Regions from separate parts of the Homo sapiens genome. Here all the other regions are linked to region 3. Evidence: promoter capture Hi-C in 16 types of primary human blood cells and fetal thymus (Javierre and others, 2016). All regions are on one chromosome and are shown on one strand. Each heading gives the region's core, a stretch centred on a gene start or on the middle of the fragment in contact. The rest is flanking DNA. Distances are from core to core; before and after follow the strand shown.

The links. The method cuts DNA at HindIII sites, captures the fragments that hold promoters and counts their contacts. A CHiCAGO score of 5 or more calls a contact.
Region 1: a contact is called between a fragment that was not itself captured here and the fragment with the promoter of TXK in region 3, in 1 of 17 cell types (non-activated CD4 T cells). The highest score is 7.2, in non-activated CD4 T cells.
Region 2: a fragment that was not itself captured here is called in contact with the fragment with the promoter of TXK in region 3 in 2 of 17 cell types (non-activated CD4 T cells and activated CD4 T cells); the score reaches 6.9 in non-activated CD4 T cells.
Region 4: a contact is called between a fragment that was not itself captured here and the fragment with the promoter of TXK in region 3, in 1 of 17 cell types (erythroblasts). The highest score is 5.6, in erythroblasts.

The regions. Positions count from the first base shown.
Region 1 is chr4:48,838,889-48,841,588 of GRCh38, reverse strand. The region is part of intron 3 of OCIAD1 (OCIA domain containing 1); the gene reads right to left. Among named protein-coding and RNA genes, the nearest start is that of OCIAD1, 9.2 kb to the right of the region's middle. The HindIII fragment of the contact is 3,511 bases long and covers 1-2,700 here.
Region 2 is chr4:48,783,504-48,786,203 of GRCh38, reverse strand. No RefSeq gene overlaps it. Among named protein-coding and RNA genes, the nearest start is that of FRYL, 4.6 kb to the right of the region's middle. The HindIII fragment of the contact is 560 bases long and covers 1,032-1,591 here.
Region 3 is chr4:48,132,961-48,135,660 of GRCh38, reverse strand. It overlaps TXK (TXK tyrosine kinase), which reads left to right and starts at 1,411. Exons shown (of 15, transcript NM_003328.3): 1 at 1,411-1,506. The coding sequence starts at 1,491. RefSeq lists a silencer at 1,675-1,969. The HindIII fragment of the contact is 7,086 bases long and covers 1-2,700 here.
Region 4 is chr4:48,956,905-48,959,635 of GRCh38, reverse strand. No RefSeq gene overlaps it. Among named protein-coding and RNA genes, the nearest start is that of CWH43, 28 kb to the left of the region's middle. The HindIII fragment of the contact is 324 bases long and covers 1,102-1,425 here.

The DNA of each region.
Region 1 (2,700 bases), core at 74-2,573, 710 kb before region 3:
TCATTCTAGGAGTCTGGAATTTTGGTACCTGTTAGGCAGAGGGTGAATAAGTGACCAGCCCCCAATAAAAACTGTGGGCACTGAGTCTCTAATGAGTTCCCCGGGTAGATACAACTTCACACATTGTTATGACTAGCTGTTGGAGAAATTTACACTCCCTGGGAAGAGAACTCTTGGGACCTGGTTTCCGCCGGACTTCACCCCATGCTCCCTTTCCTTTTATGATTTTGCTTTATATCCTTTCACTGCAAGTTATTTTAAAGTTAAATTGCTACATGTGACTACTGGCTGCCACACTGGACAGTGCTGTTCCAGACCTGAGGTTGGCAAACACGTTCTATGAAGAGCCAGATGGTAAATATTTTGGGTTTTGTGGGCCAATCTCTGTCCCAGTTACTCAATTGCCGTTTTAAAGCAAAAGCACCGAAAGACAATCCAAAAACACATGAACGTAGCTGTGTTCCAACAAAACTTTATTTTTAGATGCAAACATATGAATTTCATGTAATTTCACACGTAATGAAATATTCTTTTCCTTTGATTTCTTAACCATTTTATCTTATTTTATGTTTTTAGACAAAGTCTCACTCTATCACCAAGGCTGGAATGCAGTGGTACAATCTCATCTCACTGCAGCCTCAACCTGCCGGCTCAGATGATCCTCCTGCTTCAGCCTCCCAAGTGGTTGGGACTACAGGCATGCACCGCCATGCCTGGCTAATTTTTTGTCTTTTTTCTTTTTTTTTTTTTTTTTTGTAGAGATGAGGTTTCGCCAAGTTGCCCAGGCTGGTCTCGATCTCCTTGGTTCAAGTAATCAGCCCACCTCAGCCTCCCAAAGTGCTGGGATTACAGGCGTGAGCCACTGCACCCAGCCTCTTAACCATTTAAAAATGTAAAAACAATTCTTAGCTCATGCATACAAAAACAGATTTGGTCCATGGGCTAGTTTGTTCAACTCTGGTCTAAACCATATATGGACAATTTAAGAACCAAAGTAATTAAGACATTTGAATTATTACAGATTTCATGATTAAAATCCATCACTTTGGAATAGGGCATTAACTTTGCCATCACACACAAATTGCACAAACGCTAAGGTCTGAATTCATGCTATCCTACTTACTAACAGATTTTACCTTTGCTGGAAATATGGTTTCTTTAATGTTGGCTAGTTAGAATGCCTTCATGCATTATCATTTATCATTTAAGGTTTTGCAAAGGACAAATCCCTTTTAATTACAGCACCAGTACAATTTGCAATCATTTTTCTCCAGCTTGACTCAAGGATTGCAACATGAAGCACTGAAGAATCATATAAGAATAAAAGGCAATGAGTTAGCTGGCCATTTCTACAATGGATAATGCTTTCCCCATTTAATGCAGAGTAATAGTCTGTTCGAGGAGATTCTAGTACTAGTTCTGCCATTCACCACAATGTCTTTGCATAGCTTCTTCTCATGCTATAAAGGAATAATGGATTAGACCTAAGGTCTCATTCCAACTCAGGTATTCTACTTTATGTCACAGAAAAAGACAATGGTAAGACTGAAAGAGGCTTCAGAGATTATCTAGTCCTCATTCCAATCTGAGTACACTAATATCCAGAAAAGACAAGTCATTTGCTCAAAGCAACACAGCTGGTTAGTTTGTGGTAATGCTGAGATCAGAACCCAAGTCTCCTGACTCCCTAGTCAGTGGCCTTTTCCACTACAGTATGTAATATCTATTTTGTTAAATAATCTGTCTCTATAGGCAAATCAGTAATACTGCTGACCAAAACCTAGTGCACATTATTACCACAGTCCCAAACTATATTCAATATATACAAGAATCCCTACAATTATTTGAACTCTTCTCCCCTCACAGTAACAAAAAGCTACTCTATATTCCTAACTGTAGTCAATAAAAATTTTTATTTCATTAATCATAATAACACTAATAGCTATTTAATAAAGATAGCCAACACTTAATTAAATTGCATTAATCCCTATAATAATTTCATGAGCTAGGCAGTTATCCCCATTTTATAGATAAGAAAAGTATAGCACAGACCTCAGGAACTTGTCCAAAATCTCACAGCTACTGTGTGTGGAGCTGGGATTTGAATCCAGCCAATCAGGCCTCAGAGTCCATACTCTTTTTTTTTTTTTTTTGAGATGAAGTCTCGCTTTGTCACCCAGGCTGGAGTGCAATGTCACAATCCTGACTCAATGCAACCTCTGCCTCCCGAGTTCAAGCCATTCTCCTGCCTCAGCCTCCCAAGAAGCTGGGACTACAGGCATGTGCCACCACACCTGGCTAATTTTTGTATTTTTAGTAGAGACAGGGTTTCACCATGTTAGCCAGGCTGGTCTTGAACTCTTGACCTCAAGTGATCCACCCACCTCGGCCTCTCAAAATGCTGGGATTACAGGTGTGAGCCACCATGCCTGGCCCATACTCTTATCACTCTTATACTGTATCATTTGAAAACTAGTAGTACACATATATGAAATATTATTCATAGACTCCAGCTGATACAAATATGAACTGATACATCTTTTTAGTAATTCTGGAGTTTGAGAACTATTTTAACATGAATATGCAATAAACTGACCCTATATGCACAGGGTCTTCACTACCTGTGTGTTTGGGCACAGACATAGTGATTTTAGGTCAGTGCATAGGGTCACGATTTTAAGCACCTAGAAATAAGATGCC
Region 2 (2,700 bases), core at 62-2,561, 650 kb before region 3:
CACACCTGGCCAGGAATATTCTAATTTCTAAACCATCCTTTAAAGTAGATGCAAAGAGGCTGGCTCATGCCTGCAATCCCAGTGTTTTGGGAGACCGAGGTGGGTGGATCACTTGAGGTCAGGAGTTTGAGACCAGCCTGACCAACATGGTGAAACCCCGCCTCTACTAAAAATACCAAAATTAGCCGGGCATGGTGGTGCAACCCTGTAGTCCCAGCTTCTCAAGATGCTGAGGCAGGAGAATCTCTTGAACCCGGGAACCAGAGGTTGCGGTGAGCCGAGATCTCACCACTGCATTTCAGCCTGGGCGACAGAGCAAGACTCTGTCTCAAAAAAAAAAAAAAAAAAAAAAAAAGTTGCAAAGAAGCACCTGATCAAGTACCGGTAAAGTGCAAAGAGTATTCTAGACACAACTAGAGGTCTGTGCAAGTTTTCATAATGTTAAGTTTATTTAATTCAATAACTTTCATTCTGATGTTACAATCTTCCCCATTTTAATTTTTTAATTTTTTTTAGAGACAGGGTCTTCCTCTGTTGCCCAGGCTGGAGTACAGTGGTTTGATCTCTGCTTAGTGTAGCCTCAACCTCTGGGCTCAAGCAATTCTCCCACTCAGCCTTCCAAGTTTTTTTTTTGCCTTAAGACAAGGTTGCACTCTGCCACCCAGGCTAGAGTGCAATGGTTCAATGATAGTTCACTGTAACCTTGAACTCCTAGGCTTAAGCAATCTTCCTGCCCTGGCCTCCTGAGTAACTGGGACTACAGTCATGCACCACCACACCAAGCTAATTTTTTGATTATTGTTTTTTTGCAGAGATAGGGTCTTGCTATTTTGCCCAGGCTGATCTTGAACTCCTGGCTAAAGTGATCTGCCTGTCCTTGGCCTTCCAAAGTGTTGGGATTACAAGCATGAGCCCCCACACCTGGTCTGGCTTTAAAATATTCTTATTTTATGAAATAATGAGAATAGATAGAAGTTTTATTTATATTTATTTTTGTACCTTACACGGAAAAATTAAAAAGTTGATAAGCTTATGTCAGTTCCTAAAAATTCCTTGGAAATTTTACCAGTTCATGAAATAAAAAAGTCTGAGAACCAGTGATCTTTTACTAATTGATAAGATAGATTTGCAATAAAATATCAAGTAATTAGAATGCTCCTAGAATGGTCTTGTGGTTAATTAGATTTTCACATTGTAGGTTAACTTTTTGGTTTCAGCTGTGCTCATTCAGCTCAATTTGACATGCTGTACTGAAAGCCTCACTTATGCCAGTCATCATACTAAATGATGCCCATGCGATGATACATAATCCTGGCTTTGCTCTGTGAGAACAAACCAGACTAGTACAAGAGACAGGAAAAGAAACATTTAAGTTCTGTATTCAAAGTGATACCTATAACAAAATAGTATATATGTAGTAGAAAAGTAGCACAAAGAATAATTAAGTCAAGGAAGGGAGTGCAACTAGAGAAGACTGCATAAAGAGGGCAATGCTTCTATTGGGCCATCAGTTTGATGGATGGATTGAAGTGTCCTTCAGATGAGCAAAGAGGGGAAAGCTATTCTACACAAAGGGAATGGCATTGAAGCTTGAAAGAACATGATAGTTGATATTGAGAGAGCAGACACTTCCAGTGTCAAACGAGGGAGTGGTCAGGGAAGAAATTTGAGAAGAAGCCTATAGTCAGATTATAAAGAGACTTGTACGTTTTGCTGCGGTGTTTATATTCAGAATGTGCCTAGAGAAATCTCTAAAGGGTTTTAAGCAAGAGATAATTGGAAAGCTTTCTAAAAATGTATTAATATCCACATTCTACCCAGTAGGTGAAATATACTGAACACAATTGAATTTTTTACTGATAATTGCAGACCTTTCAGTGACATACTCAATGAATATCAGTTCTTATTTTACAAAGCAACACATTTAACTTTAGAGAGTGAAGGACTTGGACCTCCTCTGGGAGACCTAGGAGACTGTGGAACTATTTCCTGGAATTTTTTCATTAAATCAAACTACTGTGACTTATTTTCTTTTAACTTATTCTCATCAATATTAATGGGACAGGGGAAATGATTTTGGTTGACAGCTTCCATTAGTTGGATTTTTTTTTTGAAAAAAAAAAAAAAAAAAGACAGGATCTTGCTATGTTGCCCAGGCTGGCCTTGAACTTCTGGGCTCAAAGCAATCTTCCCATCTCAGCCTCCCCACTAGCTGAGATTACAGGTGTGCACCATCACACCATGCTCTGGATTTTTAAAAATTTTACTATAGAAAAATCTCTGGTGAATACATAGTCTCCACGCAAGAGCTTTGAAGGAAATAAAGGGTAAAAACTGTGCCCCTTATAGGTGGAGATTCATGACATACTCTCTGGAGAATGGATACATATTCATCATTTTCTCCCTATTCTTTTTTTTTTTTAGACGGAGTTTCACTCTTGTTGCATAGGCTGGAGTGCAATGGCAACATCTCAGCTCACCGCACCTCCGCCTTCCAGGTTCAAGCGATTCTCCTGCCTCAGCCTCCTGAGTAGCTGGGATTACAGGCACGCGCCACCCCGCCCAGCTAATTTTGTATTTTTAGTAGAGACGGGGTTTCACCATGTTGGTCAGCCTGGTCTCGAACTCCTGAGCTCAAGTGATTTACCTGCCTCGGCCTCCCAGTGCTGGGAATACAGGTGTGAGCCACTGCACTTGGCC
Region 3 (2,700 bases), core at 162-2,661:
TGAACGTGTGCCATGGTGGTTTGCTGCACCTATCAAAAACTCATCACCTAGGTATGCATTAGCTATTTTTCCTGATATTAGCCTGATATATATATTTCCTGATATTAGCCTGGCATGCATTAGCTATTTTTCCTGATGCTCTCCCCTCATCTGCCCTCCCCAACAGGCCCCAGTATGTGTTGTTCCCCTCCCTGTGTCCATGTGTTTCATGGTTCAGTTCCCACTTATAAGTGAGAACATGTGGTGTTTGGTTTTCTGTTCCTGCATTACTTTGCTAAGGATAACGGCTTCCAGTTCCATCCATGTCCCTGCAAAGGACATGATTTCATTCTGTATAGCTGCATAATATTCCACGGTGTATATGTACCACATTTTCTTTATCCAGCCTATCATTGATGGGCATTTTGGTTGCTAACCATGCACAACTTTTAACTGACTTGTAGCTCATTGAAGGAGTCGGTCCTGGCACACTCTACCTTACTATCACTGTCAGCCTTTTCTCCTTCCTTCCTGACCTTCCCTCCTCCCATCCCATACTTCCCTTTTCACCTTGAGGAGCTACGGGAAGTACTAGGTGGTATGAAAGAGAGTGAGGAGAAGATAGAGTCCCTGTCCTAATGGTCAGTGTATGCTTTTTATGGGAAAACAAGATAGATAGCACCTGGCAACATTTGTCAACATTTCCTTCAAAAATCTTTAAATATTTTTCACTAAGACTTAGAAAAAAAGTTTTATACGAAAGCATAACAAAGGCAAAAGGTGAAGTAAAAATAACAGTCATCACCCAGAATGCTAAGGAGACCTTAATCTAAACCAGGAAATTGGAAGGGCGATTAGAATATGCTGTGTCTTCATTAAAGTTGCTCTGTTAATTAGTTGACACATGGTTATGCTTTCCAGTGGGATGAAGTGAAACTCCCAAGTGTGTTTTGTATTGTTGGTGTTTTTATATTTCTCAGCCATCCCCCAATCACATTTTAGGGTTATTACTAGATTGACTTCCCCCAAATAAAGTGTCTGCTGAGTGGGAGGATGGAACATTCTAAACTCAATATTCCAGAGCCTAGAATCTAATTGTTTCTGCCACTCACGGTGTGGCCTTGGGCAAGTCCCTTATTCTGTCTGTGCCTTCATTTCCTTCCCAGTCCAGAGAGGGCAGTTTGATTTGATAATTTTAAAGGTGCCTTTTACCAAAATTTTGTGATTTCTTGAAAATGATGTTTGCGAGTCACCCACACCTTTGGGGATGAGAGACTAATAGCAGATACCCTCAGAGATTGGGATGGAGATTACTGAGCTTTCTTATATATGCCATTGGTTGTCATTTATACTCTTCTGAGGTTTTCAGAACAGGAAAATAGGTGGGGTTAACTCTGCCCGTGAGAAACATCTTGAGCGAACTATGATTTCAGTTGAAAGATGTGTTTTTGTGAGTAGAGCACCGCAGAAGAACTGAAGACTGTTGTGTGCTCCCCGCAGAAGGGGCTACCATGATCCTTTCCTCCTGTGAGTAAGATGGGCTTTGTCATTTATTTTTGGGGCTTGTTCTGGGGCCTGTTATTCTTGAACAGCAGAGGAAGTTTTTTTTTTCCAAGGCATAGAGCTTGGGGACATTAAAAGATAATTTCCTCAGATGTTGTGACAGAGTTTTGTTTCTTATTTAAAGAACCACAGTGATGATGTAATTCTAATAAAGGTTCAGCATTGAGAACATAAATGAAAGAAAAACAGAAAGAGTGTCCAGAAATCTGCATATGTGTGTGTAGAAATGCAATCAGTATGAAGTACTTGTTTTTAGAATGAGACTGTAATGAGCTCTGGGCTGAAGGCCAGGAGACCAAGTTCTAGTTCTGGATTTGCTCCAGCAGTGGTGGATCACAGTGGGCAACTTTATATATATATAAATACACACACATACACACACACACAAATAAATATCTATATTTAAGGCAAAAGGAAGAGAAGTCAAAACACAACTGTGTTTATACTCTGAAATTATCTGCTTTATCAAGTAAACATATAGACTTAACCTTTATTTTCACAGGGGTATTTATTCACAATTCTATGTAGACTTCCGTTATCGAGGACCTTTCCCAAGCAATTGAAATTTAGGCAAAACTGATTCTTATCTGCAGTCAGAGCCTGAGTAAAGGCCAAAATAAGAGTCAAAGTCACGAGTCTCTACCTGGTTAAAAGTGTGAACATGGTCAAGTGTGAACACTGGCTCAAATGTCTCTTTCCCTCATATATAATACTACATATGAAGATGTTATTTTAATATTTTTATAGAATATAAGACCATCATTAAAAATAAGTGCTTGTTTTAGGAGAACAGAGAAAGATTCCCTAGACACTGTTATCTGTGAAGATCCTTGGTTTGAAAGAGCTGTGGGGGATGCTTATAAATCCAAAGAAATTAGAATAAAAAAAAAAACCAAGCAGAATAGTCTTCTAAATAAGAAGGCAGCCGTCATATCAGAATTGCAATGTGTTTGTTTCTTTATAAAGGTATTTATTGAGCACCTACTATGGGCCATGGTCTATACCAGTTCCTTTATATTCATTATCTGAAATCTTCACTACAAACTGGCAAGGTGAAAATTGTTATTCTTATCTAGCCAATAAGAAAATTGTGCCTTTGAAAGTTTAAATCTTGCCAGAAACTCATATGGTTGTCAGACGCAGGATTTAAGTATGAGA
Region 4 (2,731 bases), core at 14-2,513, 820 kb before region 3:
ACTTGCCTCTCAGGTTATCCAGAGCCTCTACTTTTCTGGCTCTTAAATTCTTTGAAAGAATAGACTGAACTCACTTTCCTTACCACTGAATCATCCACTCTCTCTTCAGCCCTCAACCCTGCTTCTGCCCCTTCTACTCCTGGGAAGGTGATCTCAGTGAGGCCACCAACAACCTCCAGTCAGCCAAACTCACCTCTTCTAGGCCCTTCCCTTGGCATCCATGACCCTTCTCCCTCTGGCTCTCCTCCTACATCTCTGTCCTTTTCTTCCTTTGTCTCATTTGCTGATTCTTTTTCCTCTACCCATGCCTTCCCCTCCCTCCCCTCCTTTTCCCACCCCATTCTCTTCTCTCCTACACCTTTCCCTGGTCCTCTCATCCTTCCGGCCTCAGCTGTCCCTTAGAGGCTGATGATTCCCAACATTCTCTTATTCCAGTTGCTCTTCTATGTTTTTATCTTATATCTCCCCCTGTCCATTATACATCTCACTTTGGATGTCTCACTCAAAATGTCCAAAACATTGTCTTCTGCCCACTGACTGCATTTTCTTCCATCCTTTGTTTCAGCTAAGGGCATCGTCATTCACCAAGGCTGGCAATCCCAGCACCATCTTGCACCCCTTCCCTTCCCTTCCCTTCCCTCAAATCCATTTGGTCAATGAGTGGTGGTGACTCTTCCTCTAATATGTTTTCAGTCCTTATGCCTCTTCTTCTCCATTTCCACTGCCACTATCCTGGCTCAGTCTCCTATTCATCCATATTAGCTCTGAGCAATAGCGTTTCCTAACTTGCCCATCAGCCTACACTCATCACTCCCGCACCCACCCCTGCCTGCAAGTTCCATCCTATTACACTGATCTTCCTGAAAGACAGACTGATGACATCATTCCCCTACTTTAAGATCTTTGGTAGCTTCCTTAAATGACCTTCCATGTTCCCTAGAATGTCATCTTAAGGACTGCTATAGTCCATTCTGACTTGTGTTTCTAAGTTCACCTCTGGCCATAACACCCCCCTCCACTCCCTCACCTAGGCATCTGATACTTTATACCACATGTGAGCACTTTCGCCACACATCTGGACAAGGGAAAGAACATAAAGCTTGTTAGGCAGGCAACTTAGGAGTCAATATCTAATTCCACAACTTCTAGCTACGTGACTTTAGAACAATCTGTCTGTGCCTCCATTTCTTCATCTGCAAAATGGCTACAATGACATTTTTCTAACAAGGATGCTTATTCACTGAATAAATATTTACAGAGTATCTACTGCGTACCAAATAGGGTGTTTAGAACTCTTTAAATATTAGCTAATTTTCTCTATGTCTACTTCCTCCTCACCTTTGTCAATGTAATTCTTTCTTATCTGAGCAGAAGAAGCCCACTTCAAAGCCAAGTTCAAAAGTTATTTGTGACATTGGTGAAGCTTCTCCCAGCCCTCAAGTCAAGGCTCCACACACTCTCCTCAGTAGTTGGAACCAGTATCACGTAGTGTATTTTGTTACCTTTCTGATGTATCTGTTTCCTCCTATAGGCTCTTTGCAAGTAAAAGTAGTAAAAGTAAAAAAGTAACAGTAGTCTCTTATATATCTTTGCATCTTACACATCTAAATATGCACATAAATACACTGAAGAGGAAAAAAATACAGTGTTATCTATTGTTACCAAGACTTTCTGACCCAGCATGATTCTCTGGAAATTAATTATAAATATGTTTTGTGTTTAAGTGTCCCAGACATTTTCAAATTGCCTTTCATATTTTGCTAAATAACTTCCTGCCTTTGTTACAGGAAAGGGGTCCAGATCCAGACCCCAAGAGAGAGTTCTTGGATCTCATGCAAGAAAGAATTCAGGGTAAGTCCTCAGTGCAAAGTGAAAGCTAGTTTATAAGAAAGTAAAGGAATAAAAGAATGGCTACTCCATAGACAGAGCAACCCCAAGGGCAGCTGGTTGCCCATTTTTACGGTTATTTCTTGATGATACGCTAAACAAGGGGTGGATTATTCATGTCTCCCCTTTTGAGATCATATAGGGTAACTTCCTGACGTTGCTGTAGCATTTGTGAACTGTCATGGCGCTGGTGGGAGTGTAGCAGTGAGGATGACCAGAAGTCACCCTCGTCACCATTTTGGTTTTGGTGGGTTTTGGCTGTCTCCTTTACTGCAAGCTGTTTTATCAGGTTTTATGTTTTGTGCTGTTTTATCAGGTTTTGTATTTTGTGCTGACCTCCTATCTCATCCTGTGACTTAGAATGCCTTAACCACCTGGGAATGCAGCCCAGTAGGTTTCAGCCTCATCTTACCCAGCTCCTATTTAAGACAGAGTTGCTCTGGTTCACATGCCTCTGACACCTTGATAACAATAAAACCTTATTAATTTGACTTTTCTTCTAGAGAAGATAGGCTTTAAATTCACTGTGTTCGTATTTTTGAATATCTGTGTCAGAAAACAGTTGGTGATTTAGTTAGCTAGAAAATAGCCTTTATTTACGTTCGTGTATTATTTTGAATAGTTTTACATTAATGATGTTTAATTATACTTGTTTCTGCCACTATTACACACATTTCTGTTTCTGTTACTTTTTTTTCTGTCTCTCCCCACTAGAATGGACATATTCAAAAATGCAGGAATCTTGTGTACTGTATTCACTGTTGTGTCCCTAGAGTTTAAAATAATATTTATTTAAGATTTGTCAGCTAGAAGATGAAGAAATGAATGTATACTATATTTTAAT